Linked DNA regions of Homo sapiens: region 1 is linked to region 2. The links are contacts of gene promoters, found by promoter capture Hi-C in blood cells and fetal thymus (Javierre and others, 2016). All regions are on one chromosome and are shown on one strand. Each heading gives the region's core, a stretch centred on a gene start or on the middle of the fragment in contact. The rest is flanking DNA. Distances are from core to core; before and after follow the strand shown.

Evidence for each region. Contacts are between HindIII fragments. The CHiCAGO score rates a contact against its expected background, and 5 or more counts as called.
Region 1: a contact is called between a fragment that was not itself captured here and the fragment with the promoter of CNR1 in region 2, in 2 of 17 cell types (naive B cells and total B cells). The highest score is 7.3, in naive B cells.

Annotation. Positions count from the first base shown.
Region 1 is chr6:88,774,159-88,780,800 of GRCh38, forward strand. All of the region lies in intron 12 of RNGTT (RNA guanylyltransferase and 5'-phosphatase), which reads right to left. Among named protein-coding and RNA genes, the nearest start is that of RNGTT, 190 kb to the right of the region's middle. The HindIII fragment of the contact is 233 bases long and covers 2,683-2,915 here.
Region 2 is chr6:88,161,051-88,167,858 of GRCh38, forward strand. CNR1 (cannabinoid receptor 1) reads right to left here and starts at 5,297. Exons shown (of 2, transcript NM_016083.6): 1 at 4,753-5,297. RefSeq lists silencers at 4,974-5,653, 5,714-6,153, 6,224-6,423. The HindIII fragment of the contact is 6,129 bases long and covers 3,737-6,808 here.

The DNA of each region.
Region 1 (6,642 bases), core at 1,549-4,048, 610 kb after region 2:
CTTGAATAAACATTTCTCCAAGGAAGATATACAAATGGCCAATAAGCACATGAAAAGATGTTCACTATCATTAATCATTAAACAAATGCAATCAAAATCAAATGGAGATACCACTTCATACTAACTAGGGTGACTATAATTTAGAAAAAAAAACACAGAAACTAACAAGTGTTGGTGAGAATGTGGATAAATCAGAACATGCACATTGCTGATAGAAATGTGAAATGGTGCAGCCACTATAGATAAAAGGTTAACAGTACCTCAAAAAGCCAAACACAGAATTACCACATGACCCGGAAGGTCCATTTCTAGGTACACACTCCAAAAACCTGAAAACAGCTACTCAAACAGACACTTGTATGTCAATGTTCATTGAAGCATTCTTCACAAAAATTAAAAGGTAAAGACAATACAAGTCTCCATCAACAGGTGAGTAGATAAACAAAAGGTTGTATATACATATATTATCCAAATATAAAAAGGAATGAAGTTTTGATACGTGCTGCCAAACGGATGAACCTCAAAAGCATTATGCTAAGCGAAATAAGCCAGACACAAAAGGAAAATATTGTATGATTCCACTTACATGAAATATTTAAAATAGAAAAAAATCATGGTGACCGAAAGTAGATTAGAGGTCACCCAGGGCTACAGTATGGAAGAAAATGGAAGTTACTGCTTAGTGGTTAAATGATTTCTGTTTGGGATGATGAAAAGGTTTTGGAAATAGACAGTGGAGGTGGTTGTACAACACTGTCCATGTAATTAGAGATTATAAAAATTATTTTAATAAACAAAAGCTTTGTAAATAATTGTGTTCTTAAGCATTATAACTTCCTAATGTATATAATATGTAAATATAAATAAATCACACTAATCAATATATTTGTATATTCACTTTATAGGTATCCTAATTGGAATGCATTTACTCAACAGAATGAAAAATTAATTGAAATTTTTTGATATGTAAAGTATATAACATTATAACACAATGTTTGATATACACAGTGAAATGATTACTATGGTAAAGCAAATTAACATTATCCATCTCCTCACAGTTACCTTGTATGTGTGTACATGTGTGTCAAGAACATCTGAAATCTACTCTCTTGGCAAACTTCCAGTATATAAAACAATATTATTAAGTACAGTCATTGTGCTGTACATTAGACCTCCAGATTTATTCAGCCTACGTAACTGCAAATTTGTGCTCTTTAACCTACATCTCCCCAACTCCCCCATCCTCAGCACTGATAACCTTCTTCCTAGTCCTGAACAGTAGCTTCTAGTTTCAACAAAACAAATCCCTTTGAATACCCACAACTGAGAGGGGGGATAAAAAGCATGCTCTCCCTCTGACCTGAGCTTGCTAATTTTTTTATATTTCTAACCACAGAAGACGGTACAGTTAGAACTGACAGAGTAATTTATATCTGTTTCAATTATAATAAGGAGGTACAGAATTAGTTTATCACCTATAATCAAAAGTTGTTATTAATGAGTTACCAACTGGGTTTGTTTCTCCCCCATTTAAAAGAGCTTATTAACCAAGTAGCTTCATAATAGGTGTTTTTTGCATTCTGTTTCTGTGTACTCAACTTTTTGAGATTCCACATGTAAGTGAAATCACACACCATTTCTCTTTCTGTGTCTGGCTGATCTTGCTTAGTACAATGCCCTCCAGCTCCATCCATGTTGTTATAAATGACAGGATCTTTTTTTCTAAGCCTGAATAATATTCTGTTGCATAAATATACCATAATTTCTTAATTCATTGACCCACTGAAGGACATTTAGGTGGTTTCCATATGCAGGCTGTTGGAAATAATGCTGTAATGAACATGGGGGCATACATTTCTCTATGAGGTACTAATTTCATTTCTTTTGGTATATACTCAGAGGAACTGCTGAGTCATATATTAGTTTTGTTTTTAATCGTTTGAGGAGCCTCCATACTGTTTTCCATAATGGTTGTACCAATTTACATTCCTACCAACAGTGGGACACCCTTACTCTCCACACCTTCACCAACTATTTTGTATGTTATCTTGTATTTTCGATAATAGCCATCTTAATATGCATGAGGTAATATCTCAATGACGTTTTAATTTTCATTTCTCTGTGACTGGTGATGTTGAGCACCTTTTCATACACCTTTTGACCTTTTTTTTTTTTTTTGAGACGGAGTTTCCCTCTCGTTGCCCAGGCTGGAGTGCAGTGGCGCAATCTCAGCTCACCGCAACCTCCGCCTCCCAGGTTCAAGTGATTCTCCTGCCTCAGCCTCCCAAGTAGCTGAGATTACAGGCATGTGCCAGCAGGCCCAGCTAATTTTGCATTTTTTTTTCTTCTTTTTTTTAGTAGAGATGGGGTTTCTCCATGTTGTTCAGGCTGGTCTCAAACTCCTGACCTCAGGTGATCTACCCACCTTGGCCTCCCAAAGTGTTGAGATTACAGGCATGAGCCACCATGCCCAGCCACCTGTTGACCACTTTCATGGCTTCTTTGGAAAAAAAAAAAAAAAAGTCTATTCAAGTCCTTGGATTATTTGTTTTTGTTTTGTTTTTTGCTACTGAGTTGTGAATTCCTTTAATATTATAGATATCCCCTTATCAGATATGTGCTTTGCAAATATTTTCTCCCAATCTGCCTTTTCATTTTGTTGATTGTTTCCTGTTGTGCAGAAGCTTTTTAGTTTCATGTAGTCCCAGTTGTGTATTATTGCTGTTGTTGGCTGAGCTTTTGATGTAACATCAAAAAGATCATTGCCAAGACCAACATCAAGGAGCTTTTCCACTATGTTTTCTTCTAGGAGTTTTACAGTTTCAAGTGTTACAGTTAGGCATTTGATCTATTTTAAGTGGATTTTTGTGTATGGTATAAGGGTCCAATTTCATTCTTTTGTATATGGATATTCAAGCTTCCCCAACATCATTTACTGAAAAGATTATCTTCTCCCCATTGTGTATTCTTGGTGCCCATGTCAAAAATTTGAACATACATGCTTGGGTTTATTTCTGGGCCCTCTATTCTGGTCCACTGGTCTATGTGTATGTTTCTATTTCAGTACTACACCATTTTAATTACTGGAGCTTAGTAATATAACTTGAAACCAGGAAGTGTGATGCTTCCAACTTTGTTCTTCTTTCTCAAAATTGCTTTGGCTTTTTCAGGGTTTTTAGTCCCCTACAAATTTTAGAATTGTTTTTCTCTAGTTCTGTAAAAAATGTCATTGGTATTTGGATAGGGATTGCACCAAATCTGTGTATCACTTTGGGTAGTATGGACATCTTAACAATGTAAATCTTCCAATTCATTAACATGGAATATCTTTCTATTTATGTGTATCATCTTCAATTTCTTCCATCTTGGTTAAATTTATTCCTAGGTATTTTATTCTTTTTGATGCTATTGTAAATGAGATTGTTTTCTTCATTCTCTTTTCAGATAGGCTGTTATCGATTGGTGTAAAGAAATGTAACTGATTTCTGTATGTTAACTTTGCATCCCACAACTTTATTGAATTAACAGGTTTTTTTGATGTAACAGTCTTTTTCTACATATAGGATCATGTCATCTGCAAACAGAGATAATTCTACTACTTGTTTTCCATTTTAGATGCCTGTTGTTTCTTTTTCTTGTCTGATTGCTCTTACTAGTAGCTCCAGTATTATGTTGAATAGAAGCACCAAGATGGGGAATCCTTGCCTTGTACCGGATTTTACAGGAAAAGCTTTTAGTTCTTCCCCATTAATTGTGATGCTAGCTGTGGCCTTTTCATAAATGGCCTTTGTGTTGAGAAAATTTTCTTCTATACCTATTTTATTGGAAGTTTTTGTCCCAAAAGATGTTGAACTTTGCCAAATGCTTTGTATGAATCTGTGGAGATGATCATGTGGTTTTAGCTTTTATTCTGTTACTGTGGTATATCATATTGATTGATCTGCATATGTTTATACCAACCTTGTAACCCAGGGATAAATCTCACTTGGGGATTTTAAATGTATTCTGAGTACAAAGTAAAAAAAGAAAAGGTATTACCTGAGTGTCTTAAAATTGATTATAGAGGAATGAACATTGTAAGCCTTGAAGGATGGGTAATATTCACTCATGCAGATTTGCAGCATGAAGTAAATATGGGCAAAAAAACAGGAGTAGAGAAATATAGGATGTGCTAAAGGAGAGGCAAGTCTCCCAATTCAGTGTGTGCATTATGGAGGGTGGGGCCATATTATAAGAAAAATACTTAGGAAGGAAAAATTGCTAAGTGTCCAATACTAGTATTTTTAAATTATCCAAGTCAAATTGCATTCTAACAAATTTTTAATTTAATTTTTAAAATTAGATATGGAGTCTTGCTATCTTGCCCAAGCTAGAATGCAGTGGCTATTCACAGGTGCAGTCACAGCACTGCAGCCTTGAACTCCTGAGTTTAAGCAATTCTCCCACCACAGCCTCCTGAGTAGCTGAGACGAAGGGTGCAATCCATTGCACCCAGCTCAAACAGATTTTTATAAATTATTTAAAACTGCAAAAATCATAATCACAGGATTGCTTACTTCAAACGGAAGTCCATACAATGACGATTCAATATAATTTAAGTTTTGCTAAGAAAGAAAAAATCATTGGAATTGATAGGAAACACCTTTTAACTGTGCCACGTGTAAGAAAATAATGCACATTATTTTCCCTCAAGTTTTGTATTGAAGCATGAGTAAGTATAAAATCAAATATATAATTTTTCAGTGGAAATTTTCTTCCATATATTTGCCCTGAGAGATTTATTTAGGTAACATACATGCTTCAGGATAATCACAAATAAATCTCTTTAGAAAGTTTTTTTGGAATGTTGAAACTGCAACATTTTCCCATTGTCAACCCATTAGTGAAGAGAATCTGATAAAATATAGTCATTTTCCTAGTAAAGCTTATTTGACAGAAAAGTCACAGGCCTTTAAGTAACAGTGGCTCATTACAGTAGTAAAGGGTCAAAAAAAGTAAGGGGAGAAAGGAGTGTCAGCAAGAGAGAATAGGCCCAAGAAAAAGAGTAAGTTTGTGTAGCTTGAAACACACTATGCACATCCCACCGCATTTGCAACCTCTGCCAAGGAAATTTCATACTTACAGGCAAATCATCCTTTAGTTCCGTTTCCTACTTGTTTATAGTAAGTGACTACAAGAACACTTAGAAACCAATATCAATCTAAGTTATTAAATCTAGAAAAGTTGAATGATGGTATAGTTTTAAAATATCTCCTAATAGGTACCTAATGATAAATTCTAAAAAGCTTTAATATGTAATTTTATTTATATAACAGATATTAAATATCATTCACATTCTCTTGCCTGGAAATCAAGACTCAATTTTGTCTAATAAGAAAACAACATGTATCAACTCTTCTGTTTTTACACAGCAATAATTCAGAAACTTAAGTAACTCCTCATCTCATTGCACATCAAATCATTCATATTAATTTGGAATACTAGACTTGATATTATTAGGAATTTCAAAGCACCTTTATGAAAATTAATGATTATAAAATTTTAGAAAATGGGGCCAGGTGCAGTGGCTCACGTCTGTAATCCCAGCACTTTGAGAAGCCAAGGCGGGCAGATCACCTGAGGTCAGGAGTTCAAGACCAGCCTGGCCAACATGATGAAACACCATCTCTACTAAAAATGCAAAAATTAGCTAGGCATGGTGGTGCATGTTTGTAGTCCCAGCCACCTGGGGGGGCCAAGGCAGGAAAATTGCTTGAACCTGAAAGGCAGAGGTTGCAGTGAGTCAAGATCACACCACTGCACGCCAGCCTGGGCAATAGGGTGAGACTCTGTCTCAAATAAATAAATTAATTAATTAATCTAGAAAATGGTATTTTAAGAATACTGTAGCTCCCAGTTATTGAATGTAGATTCAACAATGACACAGATTCTATGAGTAAAATATATTGAAATACCCATTAGAATGTAATTCTACTTCAGAAAAAATCACATCAATTTTGTGCCTACAAAACACCTAGTAAAATGCTCAAATACTTTAATAAAATAATTAAAAATACAGAATTTCAAAACTTACTACAAAAATATCTGTCTCAGGTACACTTAATTTAAAAATGAAATATCTGAGATTATGAAATAAGCTAACAATATTTATGAAAGATTATATAAATCACTACCAAATAATCCCTTTTTCATGATCCCCAAAATAATAAGAGCAAATATATTACAAATACAGAAACTGAATAAGCCTTTTAGAAATAAATATTTATGATTTATCAAACTTGAAATACAGAATCTTGCTGAACTATAAACAAGGATATAAAAACACCATTCTACATGTTCTCGTGTATAGTCAGAGTAATATAATTCAATTTACCAGCATGTATCTAGGTTAAAATAATTATCAGAGCTATAGTTAACTGATAAATACAATACTTAGTTTATAGAAATAAATCTGATTGTATGAGGTGAGCTGTCAAAAAAAAACTGGGGATATGTTAGGTGTAAACGTAATTACCAATATAACCCAAGATATCCATTGCCATTGTAAAGTCAAAAACATAATAAATGTAAACGTCAGGCAGCAAAATAAGATGCTTAAGAAAGTGTTGACCAGATGAGAACAGAACCTGGCTTAGAGGTAGA
Region 2 (6,808 bases), core at 4,047-6,546:
TCTTGCATTCAAAAAAATGCAAAATGTACTTTTGAAAACATTCAAAAATATAGAATATTATGCAATAGCACAATGGGTTAAAAAAGAATTTGCTCAAAAATAATGATTTCCATCTAACCAGTCTCTACATATTCAAAAACAAAAGAAAACAAAGCAAAGAAAGCAAAACTTTGAAAGCTTTCTTAAAGTGCAGGTGTGAACATTTCTCCAGCTGGGGCTCAAATACAATTCATAGTATTCCCAGAACAACTGCAATGACTCTGCCATGCCCATTTGCTCGGGTTTTGGGAGTAAACAATTCTTCCCTCAAAAACCCATACAAACTATGAACCTCGAGAATTCCATGGTGATTAAGTTATTAGCTTAACCTGTCCAAGTGAAACTTAAATTAGAGGCTGTCCATTATTAATTCATCTATATGGAAAATACTTCAAATATATGGAAAATATCAATGGAAACTAGATCAAGAATATATACATGCAACTAACTGTCCTCTAAACTATTATAAAAAATATACTTTTTTTCATTATGGGGCCTTGTTAAATCAAGAAATATAATCCAGGAAAGCTTTTAGTAAATACTTTGATAAGAACTAAAGATAACTACACTACTTTATGTCATGACTTTGACCTCTTATTAGCAATATGTATTAAACATGCCATGTGAGCAAGTTTGAGATGGAAGTTGCTTGCTCTCACATCAAACAATTTCAAAAGCAGCAAGAGAGGTGACAGCGTCTACTAAAAATCACCCACCTTACAAACCTGCCCCCCTAACAAATTTCCTATAGTTTTAACTCACTTGTGGTAACGTTGTAATGTGTTATATATAAAAACTATAACTATCTTAATATGCATTCTGAGATATGGTAATAACCTTCTGTATTTTCCTCCAACTTGTACAGCCCTAATTTCCAAAAAATAATAAACAACTAAAAGGATTGGCTAAAAAGAAACTGTCTTAAACCCATCAGTGTTTATGATAAAATTATAATCAAATGTGGTGATGTTCACCCTGGCATACTTGCAAGATTCTTAGAACGCATGGGACTGGCACGGATTTCCACCTATCCTGGAAAACAAGAATGGCCTCGTTTCCATTCAAGGTGGATATCTGCTTTAACTCTTCAGTGTCCATCTGCACAGCTGCTTTGAATGCGGACATTTCCCCAAATTTGTAGTATTTATTTAAAATCAGAATTACATGTTCAAATGTATAAAGGCAACATATTTAAATTTTTATTTCAGTCATGATTTACATCTATAAAAATGTTTATACATGTAAATAAAAGTGTGTTTCTATGTCCAGGTGTCCAAAATTACGCAATATATACTTTGATATTATACATATATTCTGGGTGAAGTTACTGTTTCTTTTAATCCAGGAAACATTTTGGAGAAATCTGAATTTATAAAGTCAATCCAATCTAATCTAAGAATATACAGAGAATTAAATGCTTATCAAAGTATTAACTAGCAATTCAGTGGCAAAAAGTTGAATCCCCCAAGTCCCCAAAAGCAGCATTCATGCAGCCATAATATAAAGTTACCATTTCTCTGAGGATAAGATTAGGAAAGAACTGGAGATTCAGGGAAGAAAACATGAAGTTAAAATTTTGGCAACACAAAGTATATAAACTGATTTTGATTTCCTCTTATTCTTTGACTTCTCTACCAGTCTTCAGTATATAAGAGAAAAATCAGCAAAGCAGGCTGCCTCTCAAAATACAGATATGCAGTATGTAAACCTGGCCCTAGCACAGTGTTTCAAACAATGTTGGGTCCACATTGTTTTAGAGCCAACAGCAGAATTATAAATAATTTAAACCCAAAGCCTGGTTTCACTCTAACTATTTGTCAGTTCAATTAGAAAATGATAAATACAAAAATAGAAGAAACAGACTTACACTGGTGGAGGCATGGCATCCTTTTCAGCAGGGAATGAAAGCTCTCATCTATGTTCTTTATGCAACTGAGCTAACATGGAATTTGGTAAGTAAGATGGAGCCTGTCCTTTAGGTTACTGCCTGTTATCATGCTTTAATTGCTTTAATTAGCATTTAATTCACTGTATATTCTTAGATTAGACTGGATTAACTTTATAACATAGATCAATTCAGACTTCTCCAAAATATTTCCTGGAATAAAAGAAGCAATAACTTTCACCCAGAATTCTTATAAATTCAAGAAGCTATAACCAAATCTTTCATTTTGCTAGTTATGTGTCATTAGGTATTTTCCAATTCAATTTGTTACTCTTGTTTTTGCAGCATTCCTGGATAGCTAGTTATGGGAAATAATCCCTTATTTGGCCAACTGTTTTCTGGTAAGAAACATTTGGTAAGCGTGGTGAACTATAAACTGCTATTAGAAGTTCCATCTCATAATAGTTTATTCTTACATAGCAAAGTATTTGATTTCTAATTCCAAACACTAATATGCAAGACAACCAAGAAGCCTGTCTAAATTTCCCCGTGGTTAATGTTAATTTTGAGTCAAAGCAAAGAACAGTGTTATACGACTGTTTTGAAACAGTTTCTCAGGCTTTGCCTTAGTAATTAATAAGCTGACACTGCATACTAAACACTTATCAACACAATCAATGGGGCTGCTTCCTTCTTGGGAAAATAGGTAAACCGAATCAAAGAGTTTTCTTTTGGAAGAGGCTGAAATATGCCACAAATACAGTGGTTCTTTTTGAGAATTTCATTCCCAGCAGTTTCATCTTGGTAACATTTAACAATTTCACTATTTTACCATTTTGAAATGCCAAAAAGAACACACTGATCCTGCAGCTAGGCTTATTAGAGAAGAGCAATCTCACAGGCAAGACAGAGAGGAACATGGTCCACTGGGAAATGGGTAACAGAAAAAGACAGAAAACAGTGGATAACAAACAAAGCCAAGCACTACTTCAATGTGAGACCTGGTGTTCATCAGAATTTAAAACTTTACACACTAAATAATAATCACTTATGGCTTATTTAAGGTTCTAGTCATAACATTCTTTTTACATACATATATTAATGTTATTAAAATTCAGGGGCATGAATATCTAATTTGCTTTCCTAACAACGAGTATGCAAGCACAGTAATTTTATTTGTGAAAGGCCAGAATTGGGTATTTCCACCTTGTGGCATCATTGTACCCCCATGGACACTGAGAAACACAATGAGACCTCTCCCCATCAGACACTTGATACATACCTCAGCCAAGAGCGCTCCTCGCCTGGAGTGGGAGACATCTTTGAAACAAAAAGAGTCGGTTTACAGTAAGTTCTCCTGATAAGCTAAAATGGATTAGTTTTTTAAAACCATGTCCCACATCAAGTCTCTTGCCCCACTATGGTAACTGCCATTGTGCCTACAAATAAGTGCCTGTAGTATGCAATGTTTAAAATTCTGGAGGTGCATGTCTTCTGCTCATGTATGGATATAATCTGAAAGTAATTTGTCTCACTTAAGAAACTATAAATGGCCTTTTATTTTTATAAAATTGCTCTTAACTGAGTTAGAGAGCGGGGGAGGGGGAGGAGTACCAGGGAAAAAAAGGACAGAGAAAAATCAATTAGTGTATCTTCCCTTGCAAACTGTCAGTAGGGTAGGATTAGAAAAGCAACACTTTAAATCACATAAAGTCCTATGGGAACCTTAAAGGTTGGTTGCTCTGAGCTTCTCAATATTCTGCAAAATAGATTGATGTCAGTGGTGACCCCACTAATACTCAGTGTCCGCTAAGCTTCCTCTAAGAAATTGCATTTCCCCCATTGTTCAAAAGATATTAACTTGGTAATAAAAATGAGGAGAAGTTATGGGACCCACAGAGATATCTTTCAACACCTTTAAAACCAGTAAATCTGTTCTAATCTCTTATTGGATTACATGCCCGAGGAGGCTTACTATATCAGGAAATCAACAACAAAGGCAAGAATAGCACTTATTTGGAGGAAAATAAAAAAAGATGGGAGGCAAAATGATTAATACGTTACTAAACATTTCTTTTGTTTTTTTATCTGTTCAATTTTAAATATCTGAGAGACAATCTATTAAAATCAGAAACATGCATGTTGCTTTTAAACTTCCAAATGACCAAATGACAGTTTCTCATGTCTATTACAGCAAACATATTTTTATTTGAGAGGTGATCCGTTTATGATTTGTAAGCCTTAACAAGAAATGTCTTTTAAAAATGCAACATTAACTTTAGTCATCTAACAGCTAGTTCTGAGTTAAACGGTTCCATCAACATTCAATTTTAGGTATTAGTTACATGGACATTTGTTTTTCCTCAAAGAGAAGTGGTTCCTGTAGCTTTTTATCAAAAGTTTATTATTTGACATACATCTCTTTATATGACATTTACTATTTTACATTAGTCAGTTTCTAGGCTTGCAGCAGAGATCGATGTATTTCCCTGGGAAGACTTAGCTGCTAACATGGTTTATAGGCATTCAGCACCAACTCAAGCGCCCGTTTTTCAAACATGCACAATTACCCATTTTCTACAAACAGACATCAGTGCATACAGAGCCAGGTGCACACACATTCAATAAATAGTAAATGGTAGAAATCTCCAGAAGTAGAACAGATCACAGTTAACAGGCTGGGGCCATACAGCTAAGTAAACACCGACGCACGATTCGCTCACACGGAATAAGAACTCCACGAAGGACACTTGGGGACCACACTGGTCGTACCCGAGGGGGCGGGAGGCGGAAAAAGTATTTCCAAACGCAACTCTGCCAGGTCTTACCCTTCGCATCCCCTGGTCCTCGGGACAGAAGCTCCCTTGGCACCTCTCGCCCAGCTCAGGGGCTGGTTGTCCGCTAGAACGAAATATCCCCCACTGACTACGGAGAGCTCTGCAGGGAGCCGAGGCCCCCGCCCGGGCCAAGGGAAGGCGCTGGCGCCGCGGGAGACAAGAAGAGGCGGAGGCGGAAAAGAAGTGGAGAAGGAAGGGGTGGCAGAGGGAGTAGCGTGCGGGAGGCGGCGCCGGCGCCGGGCTGCTGGCGAGGCGGGGTGGGGTGGAGTGGGGTGTGCCTCCGGCGGGCGGTCAGCAAGTCAGTCCGTCCGAGCGCCGGCGTCCCGGTCTCCAGCGCCCGCCCGCGACAGCGACCGGGACTGGCGCCCCGCTGCTCCGACCGCCGGCGAGCCTCGCCCCTTCCCAGGCTCTTCACTGGGTCCTCCCGCGAGCCCCGCCTGGCCCGGCGTGGGGCCGCCCGTCTCCGCCAGCCCGGGCGCCCGTCGCCTCGTCCCGCTCGCGCAGTCCCTGCCGCTCCCTCCGCTCGCGCTGTCTCTGGCTCCCTCTCGCTCCAGTCCCATTTATGAAGCGCGGTCCCATCACGTGTTAATGAGCCTTTGTCCTGCCCTGGCAGCGGCGGCGGCACAGACCCCGCCGAGGGAACTGCGCGGGGAGGGACCTGAGCGCAGCGCCCGTAGCCCCAAACTTTGCTTGGGGCGGGGGACCCGCCGCGGCGCCAGCCCTGGGGCCAGAGGGGACAAGCCTCTTCGGCCCGCGTCACCTACTTCTCCTCTTCCTCCTCCTCCTCCGCCGCCGCGCTCCCGGAGGCCCCCGCTGCCATGACCTCGCTGTGCTCCCGGATACCCTCACACCCTGACCAGGCCAAGAAGGGGCTGGTGCATGCGCCGCCCACGACCTCGGGGCCATTAATCACACGCTCCCGGGCAGCGCGCATCGCCAACACCTTCCGCGGGGGTCACGTCTGGGGCAGCGGGCTGAGCCGGAAGGGGAAGGGGAGCGGGAGCCCAGAGGCCGAGGCGCGCCGGGCCCGGGGGTGCGGTCTCGCGCCCCCTCCCTCCGCGCAAGGCCGCTCCCGTGGCAGGCGGCAGCGAGCTGGGCCCGGGGCCGGGCTGAGCTTTGGGACCGCGCTGCGCAGCCCCCGAGCCGTTCGCTACCTGGCTGCGGTCGCGCGGCCACCTGTCCTCCGCCCTCGGGGCGCCGCCCAGCTTCGCGCCAGGCGCCTTCTCCAGCGCCCGCCGCCCTTTCCCGGCGAGACCACTCGGGCGCGCCCCGCCCGCCGGTCCCCGATGCAAACAGTTGGGCTCCGTAGGCGGCTGGCTCCGCGCCTCCCGGCCCGGCGCGCCCCCTCCCCGGCCACCCGGGGCCCCGCTCCTCGCACCTTTTCGCTGGAGGAGGACGCCCCACTCCAGGGCCGGACTGGGGGCTCTGGGACTCGGGGGCGGCAGCGGCGGGCGCCTGGGGAGCCGCGGTGTGCTCAGCAGCCGCGGCAGGAATTAGGGGACATGCTCGTTAATTGTTTCCACTATCAGCCGCCGTCTGCCTCCTGTGTGCACGGATCAAACCTTAATTGGTCTTTACATTTATCATGGTGAATTGCGAACCTCCAAACAAGCCTGGGCCGCCGCTTCTGCCGAGGAGGCGCTCCCCTCCCCTCCGCCCCCGGGGCCCTGCAGGGTGTGCGGCGGCGGTCGTGGTTATTTAGACATCTTTATCTCTCGTGAGTTGGATCGGGAGAGGATCGCACGGTTTCCACCTGACGGAGCCACGTCACGTCGGCCACAAGGGCCCCGTGCTGGGCGCTGGGTTCGGTTCCCGGCCGTCCTCTTGTGGCCGCCTTGGCGTTCATTTTATGACACCTTGCCGGTGTTCCCAGACATCATCCCGCACCGCTCCGTTTTACCGACCTCCAGGTCTTCCCGCCCCTGATCAGACCCCAACAGCAACCGTACTATATCTGGACCCTATATTTGAACTACGTGGTGAGAATCTGTGAAAGCGAGCCTCTCAGGGAAAGAAGGAAGATTGTTGAGTTCAAGGTCCTGGAGGA